2 separate regions of the Homo sapiens genome follow, and region 2 is linked to region 1. The links are contacts of gene promoters, found by promoter capture Hi-C in blood cells and fetal thymus (Javierre and others, 2016). All regions are on one chromosome and are shown on one strand. The core of a region is centred on a gene start or on the middle of the fragment in contact, and the rest is flanking DNA. Distances in the headings are between cores, read along the strand shown.

What was found. Contacts are between HindIII fragments. The CHiCAGO score rates a contact against its expected background, and 5 or more counts as called.
Region 2: a contact is called between a fragment that was not itself captured here and the fragment with the promoter of ZNF549 in region 1, in 1 of 17 cell types (non-activated CD4 T cells). The highest score is 5.1, in non-activated CD4 T cells.

Annotation. Positions count from the first base shown.
Region 1 is chr19:57,526,007-57,528,749 of GRCh38, forward strand. It overlaps ZNF549 (zinc finger protein 549), which reads left to right and starts at 1,350. Exons shown (of 4, transcript NM_001199295.2): 1 at 1,350-1,600. The coding sequence starts at 1,568. The HindIII fragment of the contact is 12,430 bases long and covers 1-2,743 here.
Region 2 is chr19:58,245,402-58,248,144 of GRCh38, forward strand. It overlaps ZNF544 (zinc finger protein 544), which reads left to right. Exons shown (of 7, transcript NM_014480.4): 5 at 900-1,026; 6 at 1,310-1,393. Among named protein-coding and RNA genes, the nearest start is that of ZNF544, 18 kb to the left of the region's middle. The HindIII fragment of the contact is 193 bases long and covers 1,241-1,433 here.

The DNA.
Region 1 (2,743 bases), core at 100-2,599:
TGTCTCTCGGTCGCTGGCAATAAAAGGACTCCAGAATTAGTCTCAGAGTGTGGCATTTCTCTATAACTCGCTCGGTTACAACACTATAGCCAAAGATTACATTCATAAAGATATTTTTACAATATAGGTGTCTTATTTAATATGACTCCAATCTAAATGGTAATTTTTCTAACCTTTCTTAAGTAATTATAAAATGTCAAAATTATAAACAATTAAAAACTAAAGAGAAATGAAGACAATGGATAGCAACAAAAGCTAATTGCTAAATATGGGGGAAAAAAGCCAGGCATGGTGGCTCATGCTTGTAATCCCAGCACTTTAAGGCAGGCGAATCACTTGAGGCCGGTTCTAGACCAGCCTGGCCAACATGGTGAAACCCTGTCTCTACTAAAAATACAAAAATTATCCGGGGGTGGTGGCGCATGCCTGTAGTCCCGGCTACTCGGGAGGCTGAGGCAGGAGAATCGCTTGAACCTGGGAGGTGGAGGTTACAGTGAGCAGAGATTGCACCACTGTACTCCAGTCTGGGCGACAGAGTGAGACTCTGTCAAAAAAAAAAAAGGAAAAAAAGAAAAGAAAAAGAAGATATAATGTTTCTGCAATCTCATTTCAGTTCCACTTATGATAATAGATACATTATGTAATTTAAGTCACTAACACTTGAGGGCAAAAAAACAGAATAAACACAAACGTGTGGGATAAGGGGATGCTGACCCCACTGTTAGTGATCACCTTGGTTGGAGACCCAGGTTTTATCATACAGATGAAGCCTGCAGGTAGCAAGTTTCAGAGAAATAGATTGTAAATGTTTCTTATCAGACTTAAGGTCTATGCTGATGTTATTGCTGTAGGGGTAGAATGAGGCATGTCCAACCCCTTCTTCCATAATGGCCTGAACTAGATTTTCAGGTTAACTCTATAATGCTGAGAGGAGGGGGTCCATTCAGATAGTTGGGAGGCCTTTGAATTTTATTTTTGGTTATAGTTTCTACATTAAAAAAAAGAAAAAAATTAAGGGTCGCGTCAATTCTCAATTGTCAACATTTTTAATGTATTGTATGCAATATATGTCAACTTTTGTGTTGAGAAATGAAGATCAAATCGTATTCTTTTATCCTGTGTATGTAATAGGCTTTGCTGACCCTAGTTTGATGGGTTTTTTCCTTTGTCCTCTCTTTCTTGGATTGAGTCCTCACAGCGCGGCGGACTGCGGCGTGGTAGGAACTACACCACCCAGAATACTGTGCGCCGAGCGTGCCGGGGCCTTAGACCAATCATTGCCCAGGAAAGGGGCACCTCCGTAAGTGCGCAATACGCCAGAATCTTCCGGCGTCTTTCCGGTGGTGGTCGTTTTTGCTGCCTGCGAGCGCGTCCGCGGGCTGGGCGTTTCCGGCTCGCTGGGTCCGGGCCAGGTAACTGGAGCCGGAAACCGGTGGAGGTGGTGTCCGCCCGCAGAGGAGCTTGCCTGGTCTCGGTCTGAGCGTCGCCCAGCGATTTGCCACCGCACGCACGCCGGATCCCGGGCTTTACCGCCCGCCTTTCCAGGCCCCGCCCCGCCTAAAGTCCCATGGCCGAGGCAGCGCTAGTGATTACGCCGCAGGTGAGAGCGGAGTCCTCGGATCCTCACCTGGGTCCTGAGGCCCCGGACTGGGGTCACCTGCGTGGGTCTCTGCAGTTCAGGCCTCTTCTCCAGGACAGCGAGGAGTTCTGGGTGGGGTCCTCAGAGCTGACGGGCGGTGAGGTGAAGAAGGGAGAGCGTTGCGTACCGTGGGGGCTGCACGCGCAGAGCCTGGGAGGTGCGCCGGGGTCGCGAGCATTCGGAAACTTGGGGGCGGACCTGTGTCTGCAGGGAGCAGAGAGAATGAGGAGAAGAAGGCACGGCTGCCATGGCAGCCTGAGCAACCGGGGTTTTTAATTCTGAGTCTTTGGGAGCCATGGAGGGTTGTGAACTAAAGGAGAACACGATCTGAGTGAGGGTCTGAAAAAATATTTCAAAGGCAATGAGTGGAGAAAACAGACTGTTACGGAGTGATGGGGGTGGACGCAGGGATACTGGTGAGGAGACTGCTGTAGTAGGCTCCAGGAGGATTATGGTGGATTCTGGACCAGACGGGTTGCTGAAGGGACCTAAGTAATAAGAATCTTGGTAGATCTTAAAGGTAAAGCCAGCAGGATTTTCTGCTCCATCATTTGTGCCTATGAGCAAAAGTGGGAGTGAAGTATGATCCCAAGTTTTTCTTTTACCTGAACATCTGGAAGAGTTGACAAAGAAATCTGGTGAGGGAGCAGGTTTCAGGGAAATAGTAGGAGTTGAATTTTGGACGTGGTGTTTCTAAATTGCCACAGAGTGAAGTTGTTACATGGGCAGTTGGAATCATAAGTAGAAAATTCATGGGAGGGGACTGACTCAGTGATGTGTAAATGGAGACAGGCTGGGGCGTAGACTCAAGCCAAGCCTTAAATTTAGACGGGAAATCTTAAGGTTTTACTTTGAGATGAAGAGAGGGAGGGCTGAGGCTGGAGGCTGGGAAAGTGTGGGTCGGCCTTGGCGAAGCTGCCTGCAGATAGGAGGGCCATGGGGTTCCGGGGGTACTTCCAAAGGGAATGTGTAAGGAATACACACTGCATAGGATGGATTTGAGGGTGGGACACTGTGTAGAGTCACCATTCAGAAGACTTGGCGAACTGTTCACTCTATGTGGAGCCAGAGAAAGGTCAGCCAGACTAGCAGAGAAGCCCAAGC
Region 2 (2,743 bases), core at 87-2,586, 720 kb after region 1:
GCGATTCTCCTGCTGCAGCCAGGAAGAGTAGCTGGGATTACAGGCATGTGCCACCATGCCTGGCTAATTTTTGTATTTTTAGTAGAGACGGGGTTTCACCATGTTGGCCAGGCTGGTCTCGAACTCCTGACCTTGTGATCTGCCCGCCTCGGCCTCCCAAAGTGCTGGGATTACAGGCGTGAGCCACCGTGCCCGGTCAATCACCTTCTTCAACAGTCACTTTGGGAGTTAGGGTTCAACATGTGAATTTTGGGAACACAGTTTATTCTATAGCATTAGCCTTTTGAAAACACACCACAGCCCTGATTTGTCCTACAGGCTGCAGTTTTCCCACCCCGATTTAGAGTGTCTTTCTTACCTCATTTCGAATCTGTGATTTTTGTAGAGAGGAAGTGGGTGAGGATCTCCTAGTGGAGTTCCTGTCATTTCCAGTCTAGAAATCAGGACCACTGCTGTGACTGGCAAGAGGTGAGATGCCCAGAAAAGGAATGGTACAGACCACATACATGGAGCTGTCCCAGTCCGTTTGGGTTGCTATAATAAGATACCTTAGAGTGAGCAATTTACAAACAACAGAATTGACTGCTCATAGTTCTGGAGGCTGGTAAGTCCAAGATCAATGTGTCAACAGAGTTGGTCTGGTTGGGGCCTGCTGTCTCATAGATGGCACCTCTTACATGTCCTCATATGGTAGAAGGTGAACACAGGCTCCCTCAAGCCTCTTTTATGAGGACATTAATTGCCTTGTAAAGACCCCACCTCTTAACACTATCTCACTGGGTATTAGGTTCCAATGTATGAATTTTACGGGGGGACACCAACATTTAGGCCTTAACAGGTACCTCCGTGAGGGCATGAGGACCTGGGGTCTCTGAGCAGTAACAAGTGCCCTGTTTCAGGCATCTGTGTGCTTCGAGGATGTGGCTATGGCATTCACACAGGAGGAGTGGGAACAGCTGGACCTGGCCCAGAGGACACTGTACCGAGAGGTGACACTGGAGACCTGGGAGCATATTGTCTCCCTGGGTAAGTGGCTGTGCTCATGGAAGGAGGTTCTACCCCTAGGACTCAAAGCTGTACCAAGTTCTGAAGGGTGTTCTGGGATGTGCTGGAAGATACTGGAAGCAGGTCCCTTTCAGGTGCAGTTCCCAGGGGTTGCCCTTCATTCTATCTCTGGGACAGGTTTGTGACTTGTAGTCCTAACAGTGGGGAGTTTCCTCGGGACAGCACTAGGGGCTGAAGCTTGGACCCAGGACATGGTTCTTGGTGTCCAAGCAGAGGGGCAAGTCCTTTTTCCGTCTTTGACCAGGGCTTTTCCTTTCCAAATCTGATGTGATCTCTCAGCTGGAGCAAGAAGAGGACCTGTGCAGGGCAGAGCAGGAGGCCCCCCGAGGTAAGAGCAGACCTTGTGGTGAGCAGCTCAACGTTTAACAAGCTTGGACAGAGAGCTCTCCGCAGGGCCCCAGGGGCCAAGGAGGGAGCCTTGTTTGGAGGAAGCCTCCTTGGGTGCTCTTTGCAGCAGTTCACCCATTCAAAGGAGTTCACCAATTCGAAGTATGCAGTTCATGGCTTCCAGTGTCTTCCCTGAGTGTGGAACCCTCACCACAATCAGTTCTAGAACATGTTCATCATCCCAACCATTTAGGCCTCTTTACTTGATTTGTTTTTTTTTAATTAATGTATGTATTTATTTATTTATTTTGAGATAGGGTTTTACTCTGTTGCCCAGGCTGAAGTGCAGTGGCGCTGTCTTGGCTCACTATAGCCCCCATCTCCCTGGCTCAAGCAATTCTCATGCGTCAGCCTCCCTAGTAGCTTGGACTACAGGTGCACACTGCCACACCTGGCTAATTCTTTTGTTTTTGTTTTTGTTTTTTAAGACGGAGTTTCGCTCTTGTTGCCCAGACTGGAGTGCAATGGCACAATCTCGGCTCACCACAACCTCCACCTCCCAGGTTCAAGTGATTCTCCTGCCTCAGCCTCCCAAGTAGCTGGGATTACAGGCATGTCCACCATGCCCGGCTAATTTTTTGTATTTTTAGTGGAGACAGAGTTTCACCGTGTTAGCCAGGATGGTCTTGATCTCCTGACCTCATGATCCGCCCGCCTCAGCCTCCCAAAGTGCTGAGATTACAGGTGTGAGCCATCACGCCTGGCCCTAATTTTGTATTTTTATTAGAGGTGGGGTTTCTCCATGTTGGTCAGGCTGGTCTCGAACTCCCGACCTCAGGTGATCCACCTGCCTCAGCCTCCCAAAGTGCCGGGATTACAGGTATGAGCCACTGCACCTGGCCATTAATTTTTGTATTTTTAATGGAGATAGGGTTTCATCATGTTGCCCAGGCTAATAGACTTTATTTTTTAGAGCAGTTTTAGGTTTATAGGTAAGTTGACGAGAAAGTGCAGAGTTCCCACCCATGTCTGCTGTCCTACAGACACATGCAGTGTCTCCTGCTGTTAACAACTTGGATTTGTATTGTACATCTGTTACAATCGGCAAACCTATCTTGAGGCATCCTTTTTTTTTTTCCCAGACAGAGTCTCACTCTGTCACCAGGCTGGCGTACAGTGGTGTGATCTCAGCTCACTGCAACCTCCGCCCCCCAGGTTCAAGTGATTTTCCTGCCTCAACCTCCCAACTAACTGGGACTACAGGCACGCACCACCACGCCCAGCTAATTTTTGTATTTTTAGTAGAGTCAGAGTTTCACCATGTTGGCCAGGATGGTCTCGATCTCCTGAC